Linked DNA regions of Homo sapiens: regions 1, 2, 3, 4, 5 and 6 are each linked to region 7. Evidence: promoter capture Hi-C in 16 types of primary human blood cells and fetal thymus (Javierre and others, 2016). All regions are on one chromosome and are shown on one strand. The core of a region is centred on a gene start or on the middle of the fragment in contact, and the rest is flanking DNA. Distances in the headings are between cores, read along the strand shown.

Region 1 (3,704 bases), core at 965-3,464, 140 kb after region 7:
GATTATGTAAGATGTTAACAGGGGTAGCAGGGTGAAGGGTATAAAGGAACTCCATTTAATTTTTGCAACTTTTCTTTAAGTCTAAAATTATTTCAAAATAAAAGGTCCAAAAATTCTTTTAAAAAGGATGCTCAGCTTTCAGGTGGCCCAGTGGCCTAGGGCGGCGGGCTACATCAGTCAGACACAGAGATGTGGAACCCTGCCCTTGTAGCTCCTCTCCACGCAGGATCTGCAGGCTTCCTCTTCTGCACTGTGTTCATTGAATGTTTGCCTCCCAGACTGACGGGGAGCTCAAAGGGACCCAAATTCTCAAAGAGAAGTTTTCTGGAGCTACAGCTATCCAAGTCACTGACATTTCAGGAGGCTGTAGGTGATGTATAAAATCCAAATCAAACCAGAAGAATTTAAAGAAACAAGAACTGTCCCTCAGCACCAGATGATTAATCAGGCACTAAAAAAGGAAAATCAAAGGGATGCACAGATGGTGGGTATTTACCTCTGTCCCCAGACACTGACCTCCATGCCCCCGGGGCTGTGTAGATGCAGCTGCCTAAAACTTCGGATGAACTTGACTGGAACCACTCTTTCCTACGCATTTGCAAAAAAAAAAAAAAAAAAAAAGTATCTGTTTTGTTCGTAGACATTTCCATACTACAATTAAAGAAGAATGTGTTATCTATTTAGAGGTTAATTAAAGGCAACAGACAACTGGTGGAGGAGAGAGGTGGGAAAAGATGTTCAACTCAAAAAACAGATGGAGATCTGAGCATAGGTGTCTGAAATGACTAAGGAAATGTAAAACTGGGACAAATCTCATTGGTGCTAGAAATTAAGGAAAGGTACCATCCATGAGCCAAAAAATTATTCTAGAGATAATGATATTGGTAGCCAAAATGAAGAAAGGGGACAAAAGCCAATGTCCAACTGACGTCTCATAGAAAATTAGTGTGTCTGGTGGGAAGGACTTAGAGGAGAACCTGAATCCCCTCAACATCCACTCTCTCGGAGGAACTTTAGAGCAGTGGATCTAAGGGCCTAAGAAGGTAGGAGGGCTGGGGGCCCAGGGCATAAGCTTCAAACCAGAGCAGCAGCAGTGGAAGCAGGAGGCACATCTTCCCAGTGCAGCAAGGCTCAGCCCCGAGACAGCAACAGCAATGTCCAGAAGAGGCTGGGCAGGACACAGGGCATTTCCTTCCCTGAAAAAGCTGGCAGGAGCGTGAGGAAAAAGCCCGGCGGCAGCAAGTCTGACTCCCAGCACAGTCATTTCCTCAAACGAAGACGGTTGTGCCATATGTCCCACCAGGCCTGACCAAGGCTTAACAGCCTACACATTTCTCTCAGGCTGTGCCATCGCTGAGCAAGGAACCAGCCTCCAGCTCCAGTTAGGAGGGAGATCCTAAAAGCATCTAGAAGTGAGAATACCCAAGAAATATCCTTACAACACCATCTTGGATAGAATCTCATAGATCAAGTTTGAATAAAAACAAACAATAGCCGGGCACGGTGGCTCACACCTGTAATCCCAGCACTCTGGGAGGCTGAGGCGGGTGGATCACCTGAGGTCGGGAGTTCAAGACCAGCTTGACCAACATGGAGAAACCCCGTCTCTACTAAAAATACAAAAACTGGCCGGGCGCGGTGGCTCAAGCCTGTAATCCCAGCACTTTGGGAGGCAGAGGCGGGTGGATCACAAGGTCAGGAGATCGAGACCATCCTGGCTAACATGGTGAAACCCCGTCTCTACTAAAAATACAAAAAATTAGCCGGGCGTGGTGGCGGGCGCCTGTAGTCCCAGCTACTCGGGAGGCTGAGGCAGGAGAATGGCGTGAACCTGGGAGGCGGAGCTTGCAGTGAGCCGAGATTGCGCCACTGCACTCCAGCCTGGGCGACAGAGCGAGACTACGTCTCAAAAAAAAAAAAAAAAAAAAAATACAAAAACTTGGCCAGGCCTGGTGGTGCACATAATCCCAGCTATAATCCCAGCTACTCCAGAGGCTGAGGTAGGAGAATTGCTTGAACCCGGGAGGCGGAGGTTGCGGTGAGCAGAGATCGTGCCATTGCACTCCAGCCCAGGCAACAAGGACAAAACTCCGTCTCAAAAAAGAAACAATAGTAACTATATAGTGGGATCTGTTTTTTTTTTAATGTAAAACATAGAAATCCAGAAGCAATACATTAGCATAACATTACATAATATAAATTTGTGTTTCCTCCTTTTCTTTTCATCTTTTTTTTTTTTTTTTAAGACAGGGGCTCACTACATTGTCTAGGCTGGTCTTGAACTCCTGAACTCTAGCAATCCTCCCTCCTCAGCCTCTCAAAGTGCCGGGATTACAGGTATGAGCTACCACGCCCTGCCCAACCTGTTTCCTTCTTATCTTTTTCTCTCTCAAGCAGTAACAGGCTCTGTGCTTCCTTCCTTGTGGAGGTTTACGGCAGGGCAGAAAGCAGAAGCTGCTGCAATGCTTCCCTTCCTGATTGTTGGCTCCAAAACCTAAAGCGGTTGGAGATTTGCCAAATGTCCTGAGGGAGAAAAGAGTCTCTGAGGGAATAAGAAGGAACATGAGTATATTCCCTAAAACCAAGAAAAGATTCCCAGAAGCCTACAAGTAGATAAGACCACAGCCCTCTCACTGGCGAAGCCTGGAGATGTAAGCCCTCCAAGAGGAATCGCTGAGAGGTTCCCAGTTATGCCAAAATGCTGCACACGCCATGCCTGGCACAGAAACAGCAGACCTAGGACCGGAAGGTGCGGTGCAAGACGGCTCAGTAATAATCAGAACAGACTGAGAACCAATGCCTGGGGCTTCCACCCCAATGTCCTAAAGATGTGTGAGACCTCCTTTTTACCAACCTGGAATGAGAAAGTCCATTAAAAAAATTAAGTGAATTCCCACCAATCTAACAAGATGGGGTCCAGAGTCAAAATTCAGGCAAGGAACAGAGAGTTTTAAGTGTGATATTGCATGCATACCTGAGTATTCACTGTACATATGTTTCGCATATTCACTAAGTTTTTTTTAAAAAGTGAATTCAATAAAATATTAGTGCCTAAACAACTTGCCTACTTTCCTCTCTGTCGCTTTTTTCAAATTTGTGAAAGATGAAGCCTCTTGAGTTCAAATGTACATCCCTGGTCCCATCAGCCAAAGCCAGTGCAGGAGAGAGATGCCTCTGGTGTGCTGGGCTTGCCCCTCCAGGGTCCTCTTAAGGGCTGTGAGCAGGGCAGGCCCATATGGACATGTCTGGGACAAGGTGTTAAGGCAGCCGCCTGAGTCGGAAAAGAGTCTGGCTAAGAGCCAGACAGCCTAAAATGAGAGCAGGAAGAATGTTGTGATACCAGATATGTGATGACAAAAGCTTACAGAAAACTGGAAGAAATGCAGAGTAGAATCAAAACGGCAAAAAATTAAATCAATAATGTTTGGACAAATTTGAGATGCTTTCCCAGAAAGCTAAAGAAATAGAACAGAGATAAAATTATGAGAAAGAAAATAGATACCGAAAACAGACTGACGATCTAACATATGAAGAACGTATGTGCCTAAAGACCAAAACAAATAGAAAAGACAGAACAATCATATAAAGAAAGAGAAAAAAACCTGCCTGAACTAAAAAAGAAAGAATTACATCCTTAGATGAAAAAGACTCATTAGGAGCCAGGTGGAATTAAATGGCAAAAGACCAGCTTCCAGACATACCAA
Region 2 (3,784 bases), core at 1,228-3,727, 200 kb before region 7:
AAGTAATAAAATGATTCATGAGGGGAAATTTCTTCAAAGAATCATTAAAAAGCTAATGAAAGAAAAGGGGATGGCACAGTTAGAATATCACCATTTTGCAACTGTTAAAGTTTATTAATAAATCAATGCAGTGGTTTATCCGTCAATAGCTGCAAACATCTCAAAAAGGGACCAACTGCGCCTCCTGGTGGAAAGCTGCCTCATTGCCTGTGAAGTTGCCTTGCCAAACATTGAACCTGAATCTGATCAAGTTTCTAGATCTAACTAGTTATTTAATAACAGAGGAGCTCCTTATACAACACCAAAATGATACATTGAGATAAATCTAGATTGTAGGAACTGCATATAAGTGATTCGGTTTCTTATAAAATATATTGAGTAAAAAGAAAGGAGAGAGAGGAGAATCCATAGATTAAAAGAGACAGAGGGAAATTTAAACATTACCTCGATATATTAGGGAATTGTCATTAATTTTTTTGTGTATGATGATTTGTGGTTATATTTTTGAAAGGAAGTTCTAATCTCTTAGAGATCTCTTCTGAAATATTTATAGATGAAAGGGTAAGAGGTCTGAAGTTTACTTCTGAATAATTGAGAAAGGAGGAAGAAGGCATAGAGAAATAAGACTAGTAATAAGTTGGCAACTGTTGAAGCTATCTGATAGCTAAATGGGGGCTTATTATAGTCTCTCATATACTATTTTGTAAATATTTAAAAATATTCTAAATAAAAAAATTTTTTAATTATGCCTTGAGGCTGGGCACAGTGGCTAATCTCATTGCTTTGGGAGGCTGAGACAGGAGGATTCTGTAAGCCCAGGAGTTCGAGACCAGCCTAGGCAACATACTAAGACCCGCCCCCCCACCCCCCACCAAAAAAAAATGCCTTGAAGTAGTAACTAAACTGTGTATTTAAACTATTACTAATCCTCAGTCTGTCTTATTACATTTTGGACTAAAATTTTGCAAACTACTTACATTGGAACTCTCAACTTTGTTATGGTGAGATCTGAACAATTGATACTAAAGGGAGAGTAAGCCCCTGAGTGCTTAAACATCACAGGAAATACTATATTTAGGTTCCCAATTGTTACCGAGTGCAGGCTCAGCTGCTCACCACTTGCAAAGCCAATAACAAAGATGAACTACAGCTAAAGGAAAGTTACTTTATTCCAGAGCTAGCAGTGGAAAAATGGCCAAAGCTAGTGCCTTAAAGAAACCGTTTCAGCTTTCTAGGTCAAGGGTAAAGGCTAAAGGGGAGTTTGGTATGATGGGCATGCAGGAGTGGTGATAGGGGTCAGCCTATGTGACTTGTTCTGATGACTATCTTGAGCTGTTGCCCCATCTGGTGTGTGGGCTAGTGCCATCTCTGGGACAGCCAGGTTGCAAATTAACTGCAGCCTTGAAGTAATCTCCAGGTGGGGGAGAATCCCACAGTAGACTGAATTGCTTTAAGATTTAGTCTCTGGAACTTCTAAACAAACACGTAATTAGATAAGGGAAACACTGTGCAAAGGGGTGCCTGGGAGAAAGAGTGAGAGCAAAGACTATTATCTCATTGTTAAAGGCAAGACAAGGAACGGGCAGGAAAGAGAGAGAGAAAAACTTTTAAAAACAGGACACTTAGTTACACAATGAGTCATTTGATAACCCAAATGTTTCCTTTGCGAGTGGAGTTAAATACATTTAGTATTTCTTGAATTTGGAACCATCATTCTGGCTTACTCTGGGAAATTACTACATCCTCCCCACTCCCCACCACTACCACATTTGAAAATAAACATAAATAAAATCAATATTGCTTAGAAAAATATACCACTGGCTACTGATGACCACATTTCCATCCTTTCTCACTTATCTCTGGCTGTGAAACTCATGAGGCTGAGTTGAATAAAAAGGGAGCAGTGAGAGACCGTGTTCAGCTTAGCACAAGCAGAAAATGTGGACTCACAAATTCAGATAGTCTGCAAGACCTGGGTAACTACTGGAGACATTCCCACCAGAGGGCACTCTAACTTGCTGAAAAATTAGAAATACAGGTAAATTGCATTTTATCTAAGGCCTCAGTAACCAGCCCACAAAACTCAAAGGAGCTAAAGCACAGTGGGCAGGGAAGAGATGGGGCCAGGAAATAAGATGAGGAGGTGTCTTCTGTCAGTAAGGTTATGTCTTAAACTTTGGATCTGTCTAATAAGGGTCTACACCTCCAGCTATGTTTTTAAAAGCCAGTAGGGTGCTTCATTTGTCCCCTGGCAGAGTGTACTAATTGGGGCACACAGGCCGTGGATTTCAGAGGCTGTGGAGAGAAGACAGCTTTGAGTGCAAGACCTCCCCGTCAGACTGAGTCTGCAACCAGGAATGGAGATGGGAGTTCCACATCCAAGTTCCCTTTCCATTGTTCAGTCAAAAATTTAAGAGCCTTTGTCCTATCTTCATTTTAAGCACCATTTGTCCCACATAATTGAAAAAAAAATTAATTCCTCCAGAAATCCCTTTATCTCCCTGTAAGATTCTTTTTTTAGCAAAAACAAAACAAAACAAAACAAAACAAAAAATATATATATATATAGCTTCACCCAACCACACAAGACATTATTATTTTCAAGGGGACAAGGAGGCAAACTTGCTCATGTTGATCAGAAAAATCTGTGAAGATGCACAAGCGAGGGCATTCTCTTACAAATCCCTACTGTGGAATTTTCTGGTCAGTGTTTTGGAGATACACAGAAACTAATGGCATCAGCAATTCATGGTGGAGTTTGCTACTTATAGGGCAGACGGTCACACACAGTGTACCAGAGACGGAGTTTTGAGCTGCACCTTTAGTTGAATATTAGTTTCCATCTGGGGAGCACAATGGGCTTGACTACCACTGTCTTCTTATCCTTCTGATATTAGTAGAGCAGAATCACTTGTCTGACGTCTTAAACATTTAGTAGTCTAAAACAATATTCATTTGCTCAAATTTGACTTCTAGTTGGACCCCAGCGCTCTCAGTGGCAAGTGGTGCGGTGCCAGTGAAACTCTCTTCAGAAAGAGCAACTGATTGGCCCGGCGCAGTGGCTCACGCCTGTAATCCCAGCACTTTGGGAGGCCGAGGGGGGCGGATCACGAGGTTAAGAAATCGAGACCATCCTGGCTAACACGGTGAAACCCCATCTCTACTAAAAATACAAAAAAATTAGCCGGGCGTGGTGGTGGGCGCCTGTAGTCCCAGCTACTCGGGAGGCTGAGGCAGGAGAATGGCGTGAACCCGGGAGGCGGAGCTGGCAGTGAGCCGAGATCGCGCCACTGCACTCCAGCCTGGGCGACAGCTAGACTCCGTCTCAGAAACAAAAGCAAAACAAAACAAAGGAAAGAGCAACTGATTAAAATCACTAACTTTGTAACACAGGAGCCCTCGAGTTCTCTGCAAAAGTTTCTGAACTTTGTGTTTTCATTTCAATGATGATTTTAAAACTCTGGCGTGAGTATATTCTAGATCACTTGGATAACCACCTTATAACCAAATACCCAAACCGTATGAGTGTTTACAATTATGTGGGAGCCAAGAGGAGGCCCTGTAATGTTCTGGCACTTTATATGAATAAAGGTTTCATAGTCGTTCAGATGTAGGGAGGTAGTGAAGACAGTCACCTCGTAGCACACTTCACATGACACTTCCTTTAGTAGGTGAGGTAATAAATAGGCCAAATGGAAAAGCATTTATTATGACTTTTAATTGTTCTAATATTTTATTACTATCGCAACTTGGAGGGTGCTATGAAGCAGATCAGCTCTTCAAA
Region 3 (3,428 bases), core at 787-3,286, 180 kb before region 7:
AACAAAAAGTAATCCCATTTACAATAGTCACATATAAAATTAAATACCTAGGAATTAACCAAAGAAGTGAAAGACTTCTAAAATAAAAACTACAAGACACTGATGAAAGAAATTGAAGAGGACACCAAAAACATTGAAAATATTTCATGTTCATGGATTGTTAAAATGTCCATACTACCCAAAAGCAATCTATAGATTAATGTAATTCCTATCAAAATACCAATGACATTCTTCACAGAAATAGAAAACAAAATTCTAAAATTTATATGGAACCACAAAAGACCCAGAATAACCAAAGCTATCCTAAGCAAAGAGAGCAAAACTGGAGGAATCACATTACCTGACTTCAAATTATACTACAGAGCTATAGTAACCAAAACAGCGTGGTGCTGACATAAAAACAGACACATACACCAGTGGAACAGAATAGAGAACCCAGAAACAAATCCACACATCTACAGCAAACTCATTTTCAACAAAGTTGCCAAGAACATATGCTGGAAAAAAAGACAATCTCTTCAATAAGGGGTGCTGGGAAAACTGGATATCCATAGCAGAAGAAGGAAACTAGACCCCTATCTCTCACCATCTAAAAAAAAAATCAAAATGGATTAAAGCCTTAAATCTAAGACCTCATACTATGAAACTATTACACGGAAACATTGGGGAAAATCTCCAGAACTTTTGGTCTGGGCAAAAATTTCTTGAGCAATACCCCACAAGCACAGGCAACCAAAGCAAAAATGGACAAATGGGATCACATAAAGTTGAAAAGCTTCTGCACAGAAAAGGAAACAATCCACAAAGTGAAGAGACAATCCACAGAATGTGAGAGAATATTTGCAAACCATCCATCTGACAACAACTCTATAGGAAAAAATCTAAATAATCTGATAAAAAGAATCAGGTAAAAGATTTGAATAGACATTTCTCAAAAGACATACAATGGCAAACAGGCATATGAAAAAGTGTTCAACATCATTGATCATCAGAGAAATGCAAATCAAAACAACAATGAGATATCATCTCACCCCAGTTAAAATGGCTTGTATCCAAAAGACACGCAATAACAAATGCTAGTGAAAATGTGGAAAAAAGGGAACCCTTATAAGCTATTGATGGGAATGTAAATTAGTACAACTACTATGGAGAACAGTGTGGAAGTTCCTCAAAAACCAAAAATAGAACTACCATACGCTCCAGCAAACTCACTGCTGGGTATATACCCACAAGAAAGGAAATCAGCATATTGAAGAGATATCTGCACTCGTATGTTTGTTGCAGCTTTTACAATAGCTAAGATTTGGAAGCAATCTAAATGTCCATCAACAGATGAATGGATAAGGAAAATGTGGTACATATCCACAATGAAGTCCTTGAGCCATAAAAAAGAATGAGAGCCTGTCATTTGCAACAACATGGATGGAACTGGAGGTCATTATGTTAAGTGAAATAAGCTAGGAACAGAAAGATGAATATCTCATGAATATCTCACTTATTTGTGGGACCTAAAAATCAAAACAATTGAACTCAAGGACAGAGAGAGTAGAAGGATGGTTACCAGAGGCGGGGAAGGGTAGTGGGGGGGTGAGTGCTAAGGAGGAGATTAATGGGTACAAAAAAGTTGGAAAGAATGCATAAGACCCAGTATTTGATAGCCCAACAGGGCGACTATAGTCAATAGCAACTTACTTGTACACGTTAAAACAACTAATACAGTGTAATTGGATTGTTTGTAACACAAAGGATAAATACCTGAGGGGATGGATACTCCATTCTCCGTAATGTGGTTATTTCACAGTGTATGCCTGTATCAAAACATCTCATGTATCCCATAAATATGTACATCTACTATGTACCCACAAAAATTAAAAATTAAAAAAAAATTTTTTAAAGATCCCAAGTTTGTGCCAGGCACTTTATGTATACAAATACAGCAAATTTAGAATTATTGATATCATGTAGTGAAGAAGGAAACTCAGTCCTAAAATTTTGTTATCATGCTGAAAGTTTTGAAATTATCAGCATGTTGTCTTATTCCTATTCAAATCAATTGTTTTCATTTCTCGATGATAATACTTTTATTATTATTATTATGTCAAGCAAGTGATCTCAGTTTCCCTGATATAAATATTTCAAAGGCAGTAATGACATGCCAGATAAAAGAATAAGGTTTGAGGGCAGCGAGTCCTGTGTTCAGATTCCATCAAATATTAATCAGTTGTGTGAACTTACACACAAAACATATTTTAATTTTCTGAGCATCAGCTTTCTAGTTTTCAAAATAAGAATAATAAAAGTACTTACATCATAATTTTTAAGAAGATTAAGGGAGCTCTTGAACATTTAAAATAGGGAACATCAAATAGGTAGTTGGATATATGAGACTAGAATTTGGAAGAAAAATCTGTGTGGGTGATATAAATTTGTGGTCATATGCCTGTCAATAACGGAAGCCAAGTTGTGAATGGCACTACCTAGGAAAGAAGTATACAGAGATGAAAGGGCAAGGCCTGCAACTGAACACTGATTCCTTAATTGAGCTTCCTGAGCACATCAGAGTAGCAAATTTTGTGATGAAATTTGAAACTATGAGTGATTGTCTAGGTGGAGAAGGAAGGAAGGAGTATTTTGATGGTGACCAGCAGAAGAGGTCTAAGGCAACACAGAATATTCTGGGAGAGGTGGTGGCTAGGGTATAAGAACACTGCTGCTAAGGGAGATGGGAAGTAATTAAGACTCAGAAGCAAACAGAAGAGGAAGCTCCCCCAGGGAATTAAGAGTTATACAGTTGGATGTCTAAGGAAACAGAACAGCATCTTTCTTGCGAGGACTGAGCCAGGCTACTGGTAGGAAGGGAACTCAAAGAGCGAACTCCAACACTTTTGGTTGGAGACCTTGAACCAATGTGCAGAACAGACATGGCTTATGTCTGACATTGATGGGGGTGGGGTGGAAGCAGGCAGAGCAGGGGTATATTAAGTCTCTAGAAGATACATGGTCCTGGTACTGTCTTCACTTCTACTTTTCTGCCACTATGGAAAGAGTAGTTGAAATTCTACAAGCTGAGAGATTTCATATCTACCCAGACCTTAAGACTTCCTCAATAAAGTTTGGCAGATGGCAAATACAGAGCATGATCAGACCTGTGGAAATCTACCCAAAAGCCAGATGTCACCTCCCCTGTGTCCTCTGATTCCCGCATCTGCTCACACTGCTCAGCCTCACTGCATCAACCTGGATGCAGAACTCAGCACCTCTCCTAGTCCTGCTGCTCTCCACCAAATCCAGCCACAGAAAAGCTTCAGTGAGCAATGTTAATTTCCCTGAAGACTCTGTGGGTCCTGGAGGAGAAGGAGGGGACAGGAAGGGTAGCTATATCATACAACCTGAAGAAAACAAGGTAAAAACTGACATTCTATATTTGT
Region 4 (3,818 bases), core at 369-2,868, 170 kb after region 7:
TGTTCAAGTTTTCAGCTTCTCTTTATGTCACTTTTATTCATTTATATTTTGCTAGGAAATCCTCAATATTTCCAAATAGTTAGAGTTCAAGTTAACACTCTCTCTCTCTCTTTTTTTTTTTTTTTTTTTGAGACAGTTTTGTTGCCCAGGCTGGAGTGCAGTGGTGTGATCACAGCTCACTGCAGCCTTGACCTGCTGGGCTCAAGCAATCCTCCCACCTCAGCCTCCCAAGTAGCTGGGACTACAGGTGTATGCCATCTAAACCCAGCTAATTTTTAAATTTTTTATAGAGATGGGGGTTCTCCCTATGTTGCCCAGGATGGTCTCAAACTCCTGGGCTGAAGCAATCTGCCCACCTCAGCCTCACCAAGTGTTGGGATTACAGATGTGAGCCACTATGCCCAACCAACATTCTCTTTAAATCATTTTTAACCTTTTCTATTTCTGTGGTTATGCGTGGGGAAAAGAAAGAGAGATCAGATTGTTACTGTGTCTATGTAGAAAAGGAAGACATAAGAAACTCCATTTTGATCTGTACGAAGAAAAATTGTTTTGCTTTGAGATGCCGTTAACCTGTAACTTTAGCCCCAACCCTGTGCTCACAGAAACATGTGCTGTATTGAATCAAACTTTAACGGATTTAGGGCTGTGCGGGATGTTTCTTGTTAACAATATGTTTGCAGGCAGTATGCTTGGTAAAATTCATCACCATTCTCCATTCTCGATTAACCAGGGACACAATGCACTGCGGAAAGCCGCAGGGACCTCTGCCCAAGAAAGCCTGGGTATTGTCCAAGGTTTCCCCCAACCGAGACAGCCTGAGATATGGCCTTGTGGGAAAGACCTTACCATCCCCCAGCCCGACATCCCTGAAGGGTCTGTGCTGAGGAGGAGTAGTGAAAGAGGGAGGCCTCTTTGCAGTTGGGATAAGAGGAAGGCTTCTGTCTCCTGCGCATACCTGGGAATGGAATGTCTCGGTTTAAAGCCGACCATTCCCATTCGTTCTATTCTGAGATAGGAGAAAACCACCCTGTGGCTGGAGGCGAGATATGCTGGCAGCAATACTGCTCTGTTACTCTTTGCTACACTGAGATGTTTGTGTAAAGTGAAACATAAATGTGGCCTATGTGCACATCCAGGCACAGTACCTTTCCATGAAATTATTCATGATACAGATTCCTTTGCTTACATGTTTCCCTGCTGACCTTCACCTGTTGCCCTGCTACACTTGCCTTGCTAAGACAGTAAAAATAATGATCAATAAATACTGAGGGAACTCAGAGACCAGTGCCGGTGCAGGTCCTCGCATGCTGAGCGTGCCGGTCCCCTGGGCCCACTGTTCTTTCTCTATGCTTTGTCTCTGTGTCCTATTTCTTTTCACAGTCTCTCGTCCCACCTGACGAGAAATACCCACACGTGTGGAGGGGCAGGCCCCCTTCAGTTATGTCTCTTTCTTACTCAAAATATCATATAATTGTGCTTTCTTTTTTCTTTAACCTGGTTAGTGATGAGTTTATTTACTTTATTGCTCTTTTCAAAAAAACCAACTTCTGAATTTAAATAACTTTTTTTTTTTTTTTTATGAGACAGAGTCTTGCTCTGCCCAAGCTGGAGTGCAGTGGCGCAATCTCAGCTCACTGCAACCTCCGCCTCCTGGGTTCAAGCGATTCTCCTGCCTCGGCCTCTCGAGTAGCTGGGATTACAGGCGCGTGCCACCACGCCCAGCTAATTTTTGTATTTTTAGTACAGACGAGGTTTCACCATGTTGGTCAGGCTAGTCTGGAATTCCTGACCTCGTGATCCGCCCGCGTTGGCCTCCCAAAGTGCTAGAATTACCAGCATGAGCCACTGCGCCCGGCCTATATGACCTTTTGGTACATAGTTTTTGCTTTCTATTTTGTTAATTTTGGCCTTAATTTTGTAACTTCCCTTTTCCTAATTTCTCTTGGTTAAATTTCTCTTTATTTTTTACATATTTTTTCTAAGTTCTTAAGATGAGTTTATCTTCAGTCTCTTGTCTGTACAATGAAAGCTATTTAAATCAATCTACTTTATTCTGAAAATAGCTTTTGCTATATCCTACAGATTCTTGTATAAAATGTTAGACTTTACATTACTAAGCGTGCAAGTTCAGCATTGATTTCTGTAATAATCCAAAAGTTATCTGGCAGTATAATTCTTCACATCCAAATGGTCAAGATTTTTAGATACTTTTTAAATTATTAATTTATAATTTTAATTATGTTCAAATACTGTGGCCTGTATTAGTCCATTCTCACACTGCTAATAAAGAACTACCTGATGGTCGGGAGCAGTGGTTCATGCCTGTAATCCCAGCACTTTGGGAGGCCGAGGTGGGCAGATCACCTGAGGTCAGGAGTTCGAGACCAGCCTGGTCAACATGGGTGAAACCCTGTCTCTACTAAAAATACAAAAAATAAATAAATAAATAAAATTAGCCAGCCTGGTGGCATGCCCCTGTAATCCCAGCTACTCGGGAGGCTGAGGCAGGAGAATCGCTTGAATCTGGGAGGCAGAGGTTGCAGTGAGCTGAGATTGTGCCATTGCACTACAGCCTGGGCAACAAGAACGAAAACTCCATCTCCAAAAAAAAAAAAAAAAAAGAACTACATGAGACCGGGTAATTTATAAAGAGAAGAGGCTTCACTTGCTCCCAGTTCTGCAGGCTGTAAAGGAAACATGATGCTGGCACCTGTTCAGCTTCTTGGGAGGCCTCAGGAAACTTTCAATCATGTCAGAAGGTAAAGGGGACACAGGCACGCCTTACACAGCTGGAGCAGGAGCAGGGTGGGAGGTGTTACACACTTTTAAACAACCAGATCTCATGGTAACTCTATCAGCAGAACAGCACTAGAGGAATGGTGCTAAACCATTCGTGAGAAACTGCCCCCATGTCCAACCACCTCCCACCAGGCCCTACTGCCAACACTGGGGATTACAATTCAACATGAGATTTGGGTGGGGACACAGATCCAAGCCATATCATGGCCTGTGGTATACCTCTTCTATTTTTTAATGTATCAAGAATTGCTTAGGCCAGGTGTGGTGGCTCAAACCTGTAATCCCAACACTTTGGGAGGCTGGTGGGGTGGGGAAGGATCAGAATCACTTTAGGGTAGGAGTTTGAGACCAGCTTGGGTAACATAGTGAGACCTCATCTCGACAAAAAATTTAAAAATTGAAATTAGCTGGACATGGTGCCATGCACCTATAGTCCTAGCTACTCAGGAGGCTGAGGCGGGAGAATTGCTTGGGTCCAGGAGTTTGAAGTTACAGTGAGCTATGATCGTGACACTGCACTCCAGCTTGGGTGACAGAGGGAGACCCTATCTCCAGGGGAAGAAAAGAAAAAGAATTTCTTTGTGGCCAAATATGGGATCAACTATTTTAAAGGTACTATGATCATATGGGAAATGTGTATCTTCTCTATTCAAAGAATATAAAGATCTTTCTAGATCCTCTACACGTAAGTGTATGTATGCACGTGGGTGCACACACACACACAAATGTTTACTGAATTGCTCGATTCCTAAATGTCCTTATTTTTTCGCCTCCTGGATTCATTACCGGAAAAGGAGTCTTGATCCAGACCCCAAGAGAGGGTTCTTGGGTCTCACGCAGGAAGGAATTCAAGGTGAGTCACAGAGTGCAGTGAAAGAAGCAAGTTATTTAGAAGCTACTCCCTTCCAGAGTACAGCACCCTCAGAAGGCAAGCAGAGGAACGCACCATCTTTGCTTTAAGTTTTTCTTATGTAGGGGGTCTTATGTATATAAAGACTAAGCTAAGCTGAGTCTAC
Region 5 (3,732 bases), core at 385-2,884, 200 kb after region 7:
GGCTGATCTCGAACTCCTGACCTCAGGTGATCCTCCCGTCTCGGCCTCCCAAAGTGCTGGGATTACAGGGATGTCTGACTGTTAATGCCAGGGCAGCACAGTACTACTGTCACAGTGTATTATCTCTGATGCTCCCCTGAAAGGAACCATACTAAGGTTAATGCAACTTCCCTTAAAGTACCCAGAAGTTTAAAAGGCACAAGGCAGAGGGGATATTCATTTGAAGAACTCAGCTTTCTCTCCAAACAATGACAGCTGCTACTTTATTGCCAATGTGAAAAGCCTCTTGTTCTCACAGAACAGCCCAATAAAATGAATCTCATTCAGAAAGACTGATATCCTTTGATTTCATTTGTAATTAAGACCTCTGTGGAGTGGTCATTTACAACATGAAATGTACTGAAATTCCAAAATTGTATTCTGACCTGCATTTTGGGGTCCTGCATAGAAATCTTCAAGCCTTGACTCCAGTGGCCCAGGGATTCCTAAAAAAAAAACAAAAAAAAAAACAAAAAAAAAAAAAAACAAGCAATGTAAATTACAAATGCCAATAATTAAATTTGGCAACAGTTAATACTGTGTGATAGCACAACTAAACTTGGAAATAAGCTTAGTTTTTGAGAATTAAACAAGATTCACTTGACTCTGCTTCACTCCATTGCCTTCCTATATTCTCTTTTTTTTTGAGACAAAGTCTCACTCTGTCTCACCCAAGCTGGAGTGCAGCGGCGTGATCACTGCAACCTCCGAAGTGATTCTCCTGCCTCAGCCTCCCAAGTAGCTGGGATTACAGGTGCCCACCACCACGCCCAGCTAACTTTTGTATTTTTTAGTAGAGACGGAGTTTCACCAGGTTGGCCATGCTGGTCTTGAACTCCTCACCTCAGGTGATCCACTGGCCTCCACCTCCCCAAGTGCTGGGATTACAGGCGTGAGCCACCACACCCGACCCTATATTCTTTCTTTTTTTTTTTGAGATGGGGTTTCGCTCTTGTTGCCCAGGCTGGAGTACAATGGCGTGATCTCGGCTCACTGCAACCTCTGCCTCCCGGGTTCAAGCGATGCTCCTGCCCAGCCTCTGGAGTTGCTGGGATTATAGGCATGCACCACCACGCCCAGCTAATTTTGTATTTTTAGTAGAGATTAGGTTTTGCCATGTTGGTCAGGCTGGTCTCGAACTCCTGACCTCAGGTGATCTGCCCATCTCGGCCTCCCAAAGTGCTGGGATTACAGGCGTGAGCCAGCACACCCAGCTGTTTTTTATTATTGTTGTTGTTTTTTGAGATGGAGTCTCGCTCTGTCGCCCAGGCTGGAGTGCAGTGGTGCAATCTCAGCTCACTGCAACCTCCGCCTTCCAGGTTCAAGCAATCCTCCCGCCTCAGCCTCCCGAGTAGCTGGGATTACAAGCATGTGTGTACCACCAGGCCCAGCTAATTTTTGTATTTTTAGTAGACATGGAGTTTCACAATGTTTGCCAGGCAGGTCTCAAACTCCTGACCCTCAAGTGATCTGCCCACCTCGGCCTCCCAAAGCGCTGAGATTACAGGCGTGAACCACTGCACCCAGCCAGCCTTCCTATATTCACAGCTGGCTGTTCTAAATGAAGGCGAGAAATGCCAGAGTATGAGTCATACCTTCTTTGCCCTCTCTCACTGCAGCTACAGCCTGACCAATTCTCCACTTTGACATCAGCATATGAATTACATGATCTATGAAAACCTTCTATAGATGCATAAACAACTGATCCACTTTAGTTGTTCAATGTTAAGTACACACTGCCATTATTGTTGTACCTTCAGGTGGCTTACCTCAGGAATTTAAGAAAAAAGCACATAAAGGAACATTCATCCAAATGATTTTCACGCCACAAACAAGTGACTCTTTCATCATGGTTAATAACCCCTCACGCATTTCTGAACTTTAAAGTGTACAAAACAATTAAGCAGTCATTATATTTCATTTCTTCTCCACATCATCTACCAATCACACTACCCTCACCTTTTTGATAGGTGCATCTTTTCCCTTCTTTAGGGGCACAGAGCATTGGCCAGAGTTGCTCCCAGGTTCCAGCCCTGTCCCAGCCTCAGCTTCCTGAGCAGCATCCCTTTCTATAGAATCACTGTTGCCTGATCTCTTTCTCTTCCTGTGTGTTTCCAGGCCAGGGTTCTTTGCCTCTTCCTCAAACTCTACAATATATGGATAAAGTTCATTCACCATGTGGAGAACCTGGCCAGGCTGCAGCTTCACCTCTTGGTCCTTCCCAATTACGACTGAGTCAATGCTGGTGGGATTGACTCCTACCTATGGAATAAACAATCAGAAAATAATTATAATAATAGCAACAGCACCTACAGTAAGATAGCCACTGCTATGTTAACCACTTACTATATGCCAAGCACCTTGCCTTATGTTCACCTATATTACTCCATCACTTCCATACATGACAGAGAAGCCTTCACTGGCTGGCACAGACACTCTAAAGTCAACAGCATAAGAAAATCATCGAGTATAAAATTCCAAGTTATAAATACACCTACCTGCTTTACCTTGACATATCCCTTGTTACACTCTGCTTTCAACTGTACTGAAAGAGATTGGAAAAAGTTAAACACAAATGCAACAAAGAACCAGGCACTTGCTCCTATCTTCCCTAAAGAAAACAAGCTTCACTACAGGCGGCAGCTGAACAGGTGGTGTTTCCTTAAAGGCCTATTAGCAATCACCTGTTATTGCAGGTGGCTGGAGCTCCAAATCCTACCAATTTCTAAAGGTTTAAATCCTTCCATAAAATGTCCAACAGCGTACATACTCCCTTAGCTATTGCCAAGATCCCTATGAGGCAGCTTCAATTAATCCCCACAAGTTTCCCTATTCCAGAACCCCTGGCCTGCTCATGATCACAGACTCTGCCGCCAGAAAAGAAGACCTGTTTCTCCCAGCCTGGGCAGCATGGCAATACCCCGTCTCTACAAAAAAATACAAAAATTAGCCAGGTGTGGTGGCACATGCCTGTAGTCCCAGCTACTTGGGAGACTGAGGTGGGAGAATCACTTGAGCCCCAGGAGGTGGAGGTTGCAGTGAGTCAAGATCGCACCACTACACTCCAGCCTGGGCAACAGAGTGAGACCCTATCTCAGGAGGAAAAAAAAAAAAAAAAAAAAAAAAAAAGATCCATTTCTCACACGAACTCTTGACCAAGGATTAAATCAGGCTTCCACTATTATTTTGGAAAAACAACAACTATTAGATGCTTTAAAAGATAAAACAGTAAAAGACACATTCCTGGAAAACAGAAACTCAGGTGGCTTTGGGTAGAAGGAGTGGAAAGAATGTTCTAGAAAGATGATTGCAGAGACAGAACAATCTGAGCATGTGTGAGAAGTGGTAACATTAAGCATTCCTGTTCTGATAAATGAACAAGGTATCTGGAGTTGAGACAGGGAGGAAAGAAGAACCACCATAGCTGCTCCCCAGAGAGGACAGGGTGCCACATACATGCCCCTTCAGTTGCTGTTGTGAGGAAGGGAACAGAGAGAGAAGCAGCCACTGCTTCTGCATCTTGGGCCTACTCAGCTCAAGCATGGCTTTGTATCCCTCCACTTAGATTAACTCATATAGGAAAGATCATAATCAGTGCTGCAGATGCCAACTCTCTAAGTTCAGAACCCTTGGGAAACCTTGCTGTGGGGGGGTCACACTCCAGCCAGCAGTGTGCATGTTTACAGGAAAAAA
Region 6 (3,977 bases), core at 1,138-3,637, 190 kb after region 7:
TGCGGGGAAGCTGGCCCATGGAAAATGCAGACACAGCCCTTTACCTTCTCTGTATATTGACCGTCCTGCTTTGACAGTGCTTCCTCTAATATTTGACCACCAGCGACTTAGCAATTGTCGATGTAAAAATGATGCCATTTTTGAAGAATATGCCCAAAAGAAGTGTCTGCTACCAGTGCTACTCCCAGGTATTCTTGTGATGTGAACAACAGTCACTAACTTGGGGTCAAATTAAGAAAATTTGCCAGCATATTTTCAATGCCTACCATGCATTGACATGCCCCAAGACCCATTTCATGATTGCCAGAATCAGGCTTCAACCTTGGCTCTAGCCAACTTATTATTTTTTTTAATAGAAAGAATGTTTTTTGGGGTTTGTTTGTTGAGACACAGTCTTGATCTGTCACCCAGGCTGGAGTGCAATGGCACGATCTCAGCTCACAGCAATCTCTGCCTCCTGGGTTGAAGCGATTCTCGTGCCTCAGCCAGCCAAGTAGCTGGGATTACAGGCGCGTGCCACCACACCTGGCTAATTTTTGTATTTTTGGTGGAGACAGGGTTTTGCCATGTTGGCTAGGGGCTAGGCTGTTCTCGAACTCCTGACCTCAAATGATCCGCCAGCCTCAGCCTCCCAAAGTGCTGGGATTATAGGCGTGAGCCATCGCGCCCAGCTTCCAGCCAACTTTAGAGTCTATTTCACCTCTCAGCCAAACAGCCTCCCAGTCAATCGTGTATGTTTTGTATTTTGACCCACACACTGGTTTTCCCTCAAACTTCTATCTTAATTAGGAGATACGTTAAACACACATCAGTCTTATTTTAAAAGCCCCTTAAATATTTTATTTTGAAGCATTGATTCTGAAACATAAGATACTTTATAAAAGGGCTTCAAAAACAGCTTTGTCTTGTGGAAGACAATTAAAAATTTATTGTTCAAATGCTGCCATCTGGTGGCCAAACATGGCAAGCCCCGAAAATAGACCATTCACAGAAAAGATACGGAAAACCCCAGTTTCCCTAATCACTTGCTTTGTTAGCAAAGATTTGGAAAATTCTGTGGAAAAATATTAACATGCTTATGTTCCACTAATTCTAACCTGTAAGATATACTTTTTTCCCATAAACAATGGCAGTAAGATGTTTATCAGAATGTTTCCAAAGTCATATGAAGGAAAAATGAAGAAGGCAAGAAAAAATGTTTAAATAAAAAAAATTAAAGATCAACACCTGTGAAAAAAAGGGATTTAAAAAATAAAAATAACTGTTTCTAAGGGCAAAGATGCAGACTCACTGGACAACATGCTTGCCAATCAAATTCAGATGTAACAGAAAAAGTTATCTTTTCTACATCCATTCCAAGTGTATTGACACAGGTGTCATTCACTCAACGAAATTTTATTGCAAGGCTGTTTTGTTCCATATTCTTTTAATTTCGTTGGGTACATGATGGAGAACCAAAAAAACTACCTTTCCTAGAGAACCTCATGAGAAACAGGGACCCCACACCGTAAGATTGTACGTACGGTTGCACCCTATGTGGCCCTCAGTCTCAAGTGAGTGTGAGCTAAAAGCTTCTGCTTGCAGGGCATGCCTTTTCTCATTCACATAAAGGGGACATAGAGGCTTTGAGCTACTGCGGGGATGTGGGGGATTCAGATACCTATTGGGGCCTCCCTCCCACATCTTGGGTCTCTTTCCTAATGCCTGGCCAGCTGGAGGGAACACATTTTAGTATTTGACCTATTGACCCTCTTGCTTTGTCATGAACATCTTCCACTTTGTGGGTTCTCGAAAGCAGTCCTAGTCTCTGAGCAATGTATTTGTAACCTAGAGAATGCCTGTGATTCAGCTGCTCAACTGGCTCTTCAGACATCCCCAGATGCCCCCTTCTCTGCCCTGGGCCCAGCTTCCTACCTCCAGAATGCAGCTGGGGAAAGAGCCGCAAAGGCTGGTGGTCTGGTGACCCAGGACATGGAGGTGCCTCTGGACCCTGGCAACTCCAACTAGCATTCTAGGAGGACCTCCCACAGTTTCTGGAGAAGATTCTACAAAAGGTCTTTGGCCAGTAACTAATTCTTCAATGTGAATAAATGATAGTTTTTTTCCTCCAATAAATGTCAAACAGTACTAGTTGGGGGTGGGGGCAGTGGGTTGTGTCAGCTTTCAACTTGTGGCTGCCAGAACTACAATGCTTCTTCTTGGTTGGTAAAATATTTAAAAAAAAAAAAAAAAAAGCCTGGCGCAGTGGCTCACGCCTGTAATCCCAGCACTTTGAGAGGCTGAGGTGGGAAGATCACTTGAGCTCAGGAGTTTGAGACCAGCTTGGCCAACATGGTGAAACCTCATCTCTATTAAAAATATAAAAATTAGCCAGGCATGGTGGTGGGCGCCAGTCCTCCACAGTGACCTGAGACCCCTCCTGTATATCCCAGATGCATGGTAATGACCCTTTTCTCTTGAGATTCTTAAACTGGGGTCCACAGACCCTATGGAAGCACGTCAGTGGCTCCATAAATTCCCTGATAACATATACAAAATGTGTAAATATTCATTATGCTGAAGAGGTTTCACGGCTTTCATCACATTTTTAAAAATTAGTCTATGGTAGAATCTTCAGAGCCCTGCGAAAGTCTCCCTCCAAGTTGGAGTTGTTGGAAGCAGAGGGAAGCATTTAGGCCAACACTGACAGATGAGTCCTAACTCTCTGATATCCAGCCATGTCCAGTCTGTGTGACTATCAGATGCCAGGCTCTAGAAAATATCCCTGAATCTAAAGACATCCTTAACTACCATCTCAAGTATGATCTAGTCCCTACAAGGACCATTTGTACCTGGGTATCTCAGAGACAGGCCCAGAGAAGGAAAAATACTTACGCTCTGAGCCTAAGGCTGGCAGCGTTCATTACAGGTCCCAGACCAAGCCACTGGACTGATCTCTGGGCATGAAGAGGGAACGGGAGCAACTGAGGGGAAGTCATCTCCAGACATGGCTCCTAAGAGCCTGGGGCCAAAGGAGCTCTGCCAAACTCCTGAAGAAAGGAAGGGCTGATCCCTGTAACGAGGGACTCCCCTTCAGCTAATGCCGGAGGTCTCCCCAGACTCTGAAATAACCCTGACACAGCAGAGGGAAGGCAGACCTATGACAGGCCCAGGCAGCTAACCAGAAAATGCTATTTGTGTCCTGGCAGGGAACAGCCAAATCCATAAGCTTCAGAAATGCAAGGTGCTTTGAAGCCAAAGGTTCATTTATATTGTGGTTCTCAAACATCAATAAAATCAAGTTCATCCTGAATGGTTTAAAATGAAGATTCTTAGGCCCTCAGGATTGTGATTCAGTAATTATTTGGTAAAGCCCAAGTGCTTACATTTTTTTAAAGGGAAACCAGTAATTCTGATCTAAGGAGTCCATGGAGTACATATTTAGAAAGTTTCCAGGGGCAGTAAGGCTTCAGATGCAGAGAGAGGCATGGATAAGGTGAATTCCTCTTTCCCAGCCTCCACTGAGATAAAAGCAGAGGCTTCCAGTTACCATTTATTGAGTCTTTCTCTATGCAAGATACTATGCTAAACCCTTTACATAGATTATTTAATCCTTATAACTCAACTCTGTTATGCTCATTTACATATGTGAATTCCAAAGTTCAGAGAAAATAAGTAACTTGCCCAAGATCCCTCAGCTGTGAGTAGCAGAGCCAGGACTGGAACCCAGGTCTGAATCCAGAGCCTGTTTTTAACTAATATGCCCATGATTTTTTTTTTTTTTTTTTTTTTTTTTTTGAGATGGGGTCTCACTCTGTCACCCAGGCTGGAGTGCAGTGGCACAATCTCGGCTCACTGCAAGCTCCGCCTCCTGGGTTCACACCATTCTCCTGCCTCAGCCTCACAAGTAGCTGGGACTACAGGTGCCCGCCACCATGCCCGGCTAATTTTTTTTTTGTATTTTTAGTAGAGGCGGTGTTTCACCATGTTAGCCAGGA
Region 7 (3,720 bases), core at 534-3,033:
AAAGGTGCAGCAGCTGTCTAATGGTCATGAGTACAAAAGATACAAAATAGATGATGGAGAGGAAAATGAGAAGGATCTGCTTCCTGATCCACCCCTTTGAAAGTGAGAAAGTTGGGAGTTGACCTTGGCTCCTCCCTTCATCTCACTTCACTGTGCTCCAAGACACTTCACTCAACCCTTAAATACCCTCAGATCTGCTTCCTTCCAACTCCTCTACCAGCCCGACATTGTTAAGGCCACATCATGTCTTGCCCGGCTTACTGAACTTCTCAGCTTACTGAACAAGACTCCCGGCTTCCAGACTTACCAGCTCCAACCTATGCTCTCACCTGCCGCCCCTTTCAGTCAAACTGGAATGTTTTTGTATTGATCTTTGCTTAAAATACATCAAGCGTTCTTCATTGCCTAGTGGATAAAAAGTCCTTAGTCTCACAGCCTTTATGATTTGTTTGGCTCCTGTCATACATGATGAAGACACTAATTATGATGACAAATATATATACATATACATGTGTACGTGTGTGCATGTGTGTGTAATTTTTGTACACAGACTATGTACCAAGCATTGTGCTAGGAACTTTACGTTTATTTAATCCTCACAATGTTTCCTCATATATTTGGTATTAATCTCATTTTACAGATAGGACGACTGATTCTCAGAGAGGTTAAGTCACTTGCCCAGGAATATACAGCTAGTTTAACTGGGGAAGGCCTGGATGTGAAAATTCTTTCCAGTAAATCAGTGTCTTGACATGAAAGCATGTACCGCTCATCAACCTGTTCTCCACCGCCCTCCTCTATCCTAAATGGGCAGCCCTGTTGAAGAATCACAGCCAAAGCCAGTCTTGCCCCCCGGGGCCAGAGGAATCCATCTGCCCCTGCCTACCAGAGCGGGAGGAACGCAGGCTCTCAATGCCTGCTTCAGCAAGGGAGGAGAGAATCGCCCAGAGCTGAGCGGCGTCGTAGGGTGGTGGTCCTGACCGGTCAAGGCCCCTTCTCCTCGTGAACTGGGGGCCAGGGAGCCCTTCTCCCTGTCCCCCCGGCACCACAGCGCTGTAGAAGTGAAATCCCGGCTCCAAGGTCACCCTCTCCCGAGCCTGGAGCTGGAAAGCCACGGGGACTCCGGGGACTCCCCCAAGGCCCGGACTAGCCTGGCACCCACCCCTCACCACTAACCCACTCCGCCTGGGCGCTGGTTCTGTGCGCTCCCGCGGCGCAGTCGCTCCGCTGCAAGAGCGCTTTCGCGCGCCGCCACCGCCCAGAGCCGGGACCAAAGCAGTCCTCGGGCACCGGCTCCCCGAGGGACACACACCCCCCCGCGCCCCGAGTCGAGGGGTTGAGAGAAGGGCGGTCGGGGAGCCCCTGGGCCTGCCGTCAGTCACCCGGATTTGTAACTGGAGAAGGGTGCGGGTCCCGGAGGGACATCTCCAGCTGGCACCTAACTCCTCGGATCCCGGACTGGGAGCCCGAGCTCGGATATTGCAACGGCTGCCCCGTGGGCAAACCGACCCTGGTTTCCGACTCCGGCCACTGGCAGCCTCGCGCCCCAGACCCTTCCCGGGCACGGAAGCGGGTCAGGTCGCCCTGCTCAGCCTCCGGAACGGCGGCGGCACAAACCCCGGCCGCTCCCAGCAGCCCCGACGAGACCCCGGGCAGCGCCTGCCGCCGGGTGGCCTCCCTCTGGGGCTGACCCCCTCGCGCCCCCGCGCGTCTGTCTGCGTTTCTGAGCCTGCTCTGACAGTGATGTAACAAGGCCAGGCTCGCGCCGCGTCCCCTCTTTCCCAGACTCAGTGCTCCCTCCTCCTCCCGCGCCCCGCGCTCTGCGCGCTGAGCTGGCGCCGGGCTCCGCTTGCACAGCACCGGGACCGACGGGCACTGCTGGGAGAGCCGCTCTCCCAGGTTCCACCTCCCCGATGCAGAGTCCGTGGGGGAAACCAGGCTTTCCTCCCAGAACCAAGGGAGCGAGCCGAGGGGGCAGCTGCTGTGGGGGCTTCTGAGGAGACAGCCTGGCTTCTTTCCCTACTTCCTGGAGAGGGCAGGAAACCTCAGGTACCTCGTTGACCCCAGCCGGAGCGTGTTGATATGAGAGAGAGACGGAGGTTGCAATAGTGAGAGGAAGAGAGGGAGGGCACAAGAAAGGGAGGGAGGGAGAGGGGACGGAGAGAAAGAGTAGAAATAGAAACAGGGAGAGATTGCAAGAGAAACGCAGAGAGAGAGATAGAGAGATTGCAAGAGAGATACAGAGACAGAGATCAAGACTGAAAGTCAAGAAGCAAGTCGGAGACAAAGGGCAAGAGAAAGACAAGAGTTGATGGGTGGGAGCTTGACTTGGATTTTTTTTTAACGCACTGTGGTTTCATCTCTGACAGAATAGAGGAACGCTGCTCCCTGGTCAGCAAGCAGCCCCCAACCTGGATGGAGTGAAACATGCGGCCTGATGACATTAACCCGAGGACTGGGCTGGTGGTGGCCCTGGTCAGTGTCTTCCTCGTCTTTGGTTTCATGTTCACCGTCTCTGGGATGAAAGGGGAGACTTTGGGAAACATCCCCCTCCTGGCCATCGGGCCAGCCATCTGCCTACCAGGCATCGCAGCCATTGCCCTGGCCAGGAAAACCGAGGGATGCACCAAGTGGCCAGAGAACGAGCTGCTGTGGGTCCGCAAATTGCCCTGCTTCCGGAAACCCAAAGACAAGGAGGTGGTAGAGCTGCTGAGGACCCCTTCAGACCTAGAATCCGGCAAGGGGAGCTCAGATGAGCTGGCTAAGAAGGCGGGCCTCAGGGGGAAGCCTCCCCCACAAAGCCAGGGTGAGGTGTCCGTGGCCAGCTCCATCAACAGCCCCACACCCACGGAGGAAGGAGAATGCCAGAGCCTCGTCCAGAATGGGCATCAGGAGGAGACGTCCAGATACCTGGACGGCTACTGCCCCTCGGGCAGTTCCCTCACCTACAGTGCCTTGGACGTCAAGTGCTCAGCAAGGGACAGATCTGAGTGCCCTGAGCCTGAGGATAGCATCTTCTTTGTGCCCCAGGACAGTATCATCGTTTGCTCCTACAAGCAGAACAGCCCGTATGACAGATACTGTTGTTATATCAATCAGATACAAGGCAGGTGGGACCACGAGACCATCGTCTAATCTCTGCCTACAAAGGTGGCTGGATTGATAGAATATGACTAAGCCCAGCTCCCCGTGGAAGCAAATTGCTCTGCTTGGAGAGCCTTCACACTGTTAGAAATTGACCTGGTATGTGATGGGTGTGATAACCTCTGGTACCCGAGAGTCATGTAAATAGGCATGTTGGGGACACATTTTAGGGAAGGGCGATGAGGGTTAAGGACACTGGAAGAGGCAGTGGGTAGGAAAGGAAGCTACTCCAGTTGCTTCTTAACAATTTACACAATGTTAAATGTTTTGTAAAATAACCCAAAAAGTGCTATCCAGAACCAGCTGAGAGCAAGATAAATCTAGAGTGGGCTGCAGATGTGAGGCATCAAATGATGCATGAGCTGACCACAGGGAAACTGAGCTGCTTTATGTTTGAATAAGTTGAAAATAAAATTAATGATCCGTTATATAAAGTAATTTTTGCCTGGTTAAAAGCTTATCACACTTGGTATTTGCTGAAAGAAAAAAAAATCAAGATACAAGAGTTAAACCCTCCTTAGATGGGATGGTTTTTGGGAAAAGGGTAGTTAAAGAGAGTTGGATTATGTAACTGAG

Evidence for each region. Contacts are between HindIII fragments. The CHiCAGO score rates a contact against its expected background, and 5 or more counts as called.
Region 1: a contact is called between a fragment that was not itself captured here and the fragment with the promoter of TMEM215 in region 7, in 2 of 17 cell types (M0 macrophages and M2 macrophages). The highest score is 5.4, in M0 macrophages.
Region 2: a contact is called between a fragment that was not itself captured here and the fragment with the promoter of TMEM215 in region 7, in 1 of 17 cell types (M2 macrophages). The highest score is 11.1, in M2 macrophages.
Region 3: a contact is called between a fragment that was not itself captured here and the fragment with the promoter of TMEM215 in region 7, in 2 of 17 cell types (M2 macrophages and M0 macrophages). The highest score is 10.2, in M2 macrophages.
Region 4: a contact is called between a fragment that was not itself captured here and the fragment with the promoter of TMEM215 in region 7, in 2 of 17 cell types (M2 macrophages and M0 macrophages). The highest score is 11.8, in M2 macrophages.
Region 5: a contact is called between a fragment that was not itself captured here and the fragment with the promoter of TMEM215 in region 7, in 1 of 17 cell types (M2 macrophages). The highest score is 7.4, in M2 macrophages.
Region 6: a fragment that was not itself captured here is called in contact with the fragment with the promoter of TMEM215 in region 7 in 2 of 17 cell types (M2 macrophages and M0 macrophages); the score reaches 10.2 in M2 macrophages.

Annotation. Positions count from the first base shown.
Region 1 is chr9:32,925,866-32,929,569 of GRCh38, forward strand. It overlaps the pseudogene BOLA3P4. Among named protein-coding and RNA genes, the nearest start is that of APTX, 74 kb to the right of the region's middle. The HindIII fragment of the contact is 2,288 bases long and covers 1,071-3,358 here.
Region 2 is chr9:32,579,722-32,583,505 of GRCh38, forward strand. No RefSeq gene overlaps it. Among named protein-coding and RNA genes, the nearest start is that of NDUFB6, 8.5 kb to the left of the region's middle. The HindIII fragment of the contact is 7,368 bases long and covers 1-3,784 here.
Region 3 is chr9:32,598,093-32,601,520 of GRCh38, forward strand. No RefSeq gene overlaps it. Among named protein-coding and RNA genes, the nearest start is that of NDUFB6, 27 kb to the left of the region's middle. The HindIII fragment of the contact is 2,527 bases long and covers 774-3,300 here.
Region 4 is chr9:32,949,878-32,953,695 of GRCh38, forward strand. No RefSeq gene overlaps it. Among named protein-coding and RNA genes, the nearest start is that of APTX, 50 kb to the right of the region's middle. The HindIII fragment of the contact is 8,010 bases long and covers 1-3,818 here.
Region 5 is chr9:32,985,546-32,989,277 of GRCh38, forward strand. It overlaps APTX (aprataxin), which reads right to left. Exons shown (of 8, transcript NM_001195248.2): 3 at 2,538-2,584; 4 at 1,999-2,301; 5 at 426-485. Among named protein-coding and RNA genes, the nearest start is that of APTX, 14 kb to the right of the region's middle. The HindIII fragment of the contact is 2,055 bases long and covers 608-2,662 here.
Region 6 is chr9:32,967,647-32,971,623 of GRCh38, forward strand. No RefSeq gene overlaps it. Among named protein-coding and RNA genes, the nearest start is that of APTX, 32 kb to the right of the region's middle. The HindIII fragment of the contact is 1,637 bases long and covers 1,570-3,206 here.
Region 7 is chr9:32,781,757-32,785,476 of GRCh38, forward strand. It overlaps TMEM215 (transmembrane protein 215), which reads left to right and starts at 1,784. Exons shown (of 2, transcript NM_212558.3): 1 at 1,784-2,049; 2 at 2,370-3,720. The coding sequence starts at 2,428. The coding sequence ends at 3,135. It overlaps LOC105376017 (a long non-coding RNA gene), which reads right to left and starts at 1,150. Exons shown (of 7, transcript XR_929559.2): 1 at 887-1,150. The HindIII fragment of the contact is 4,873 bases long and covers 1-3,598 here.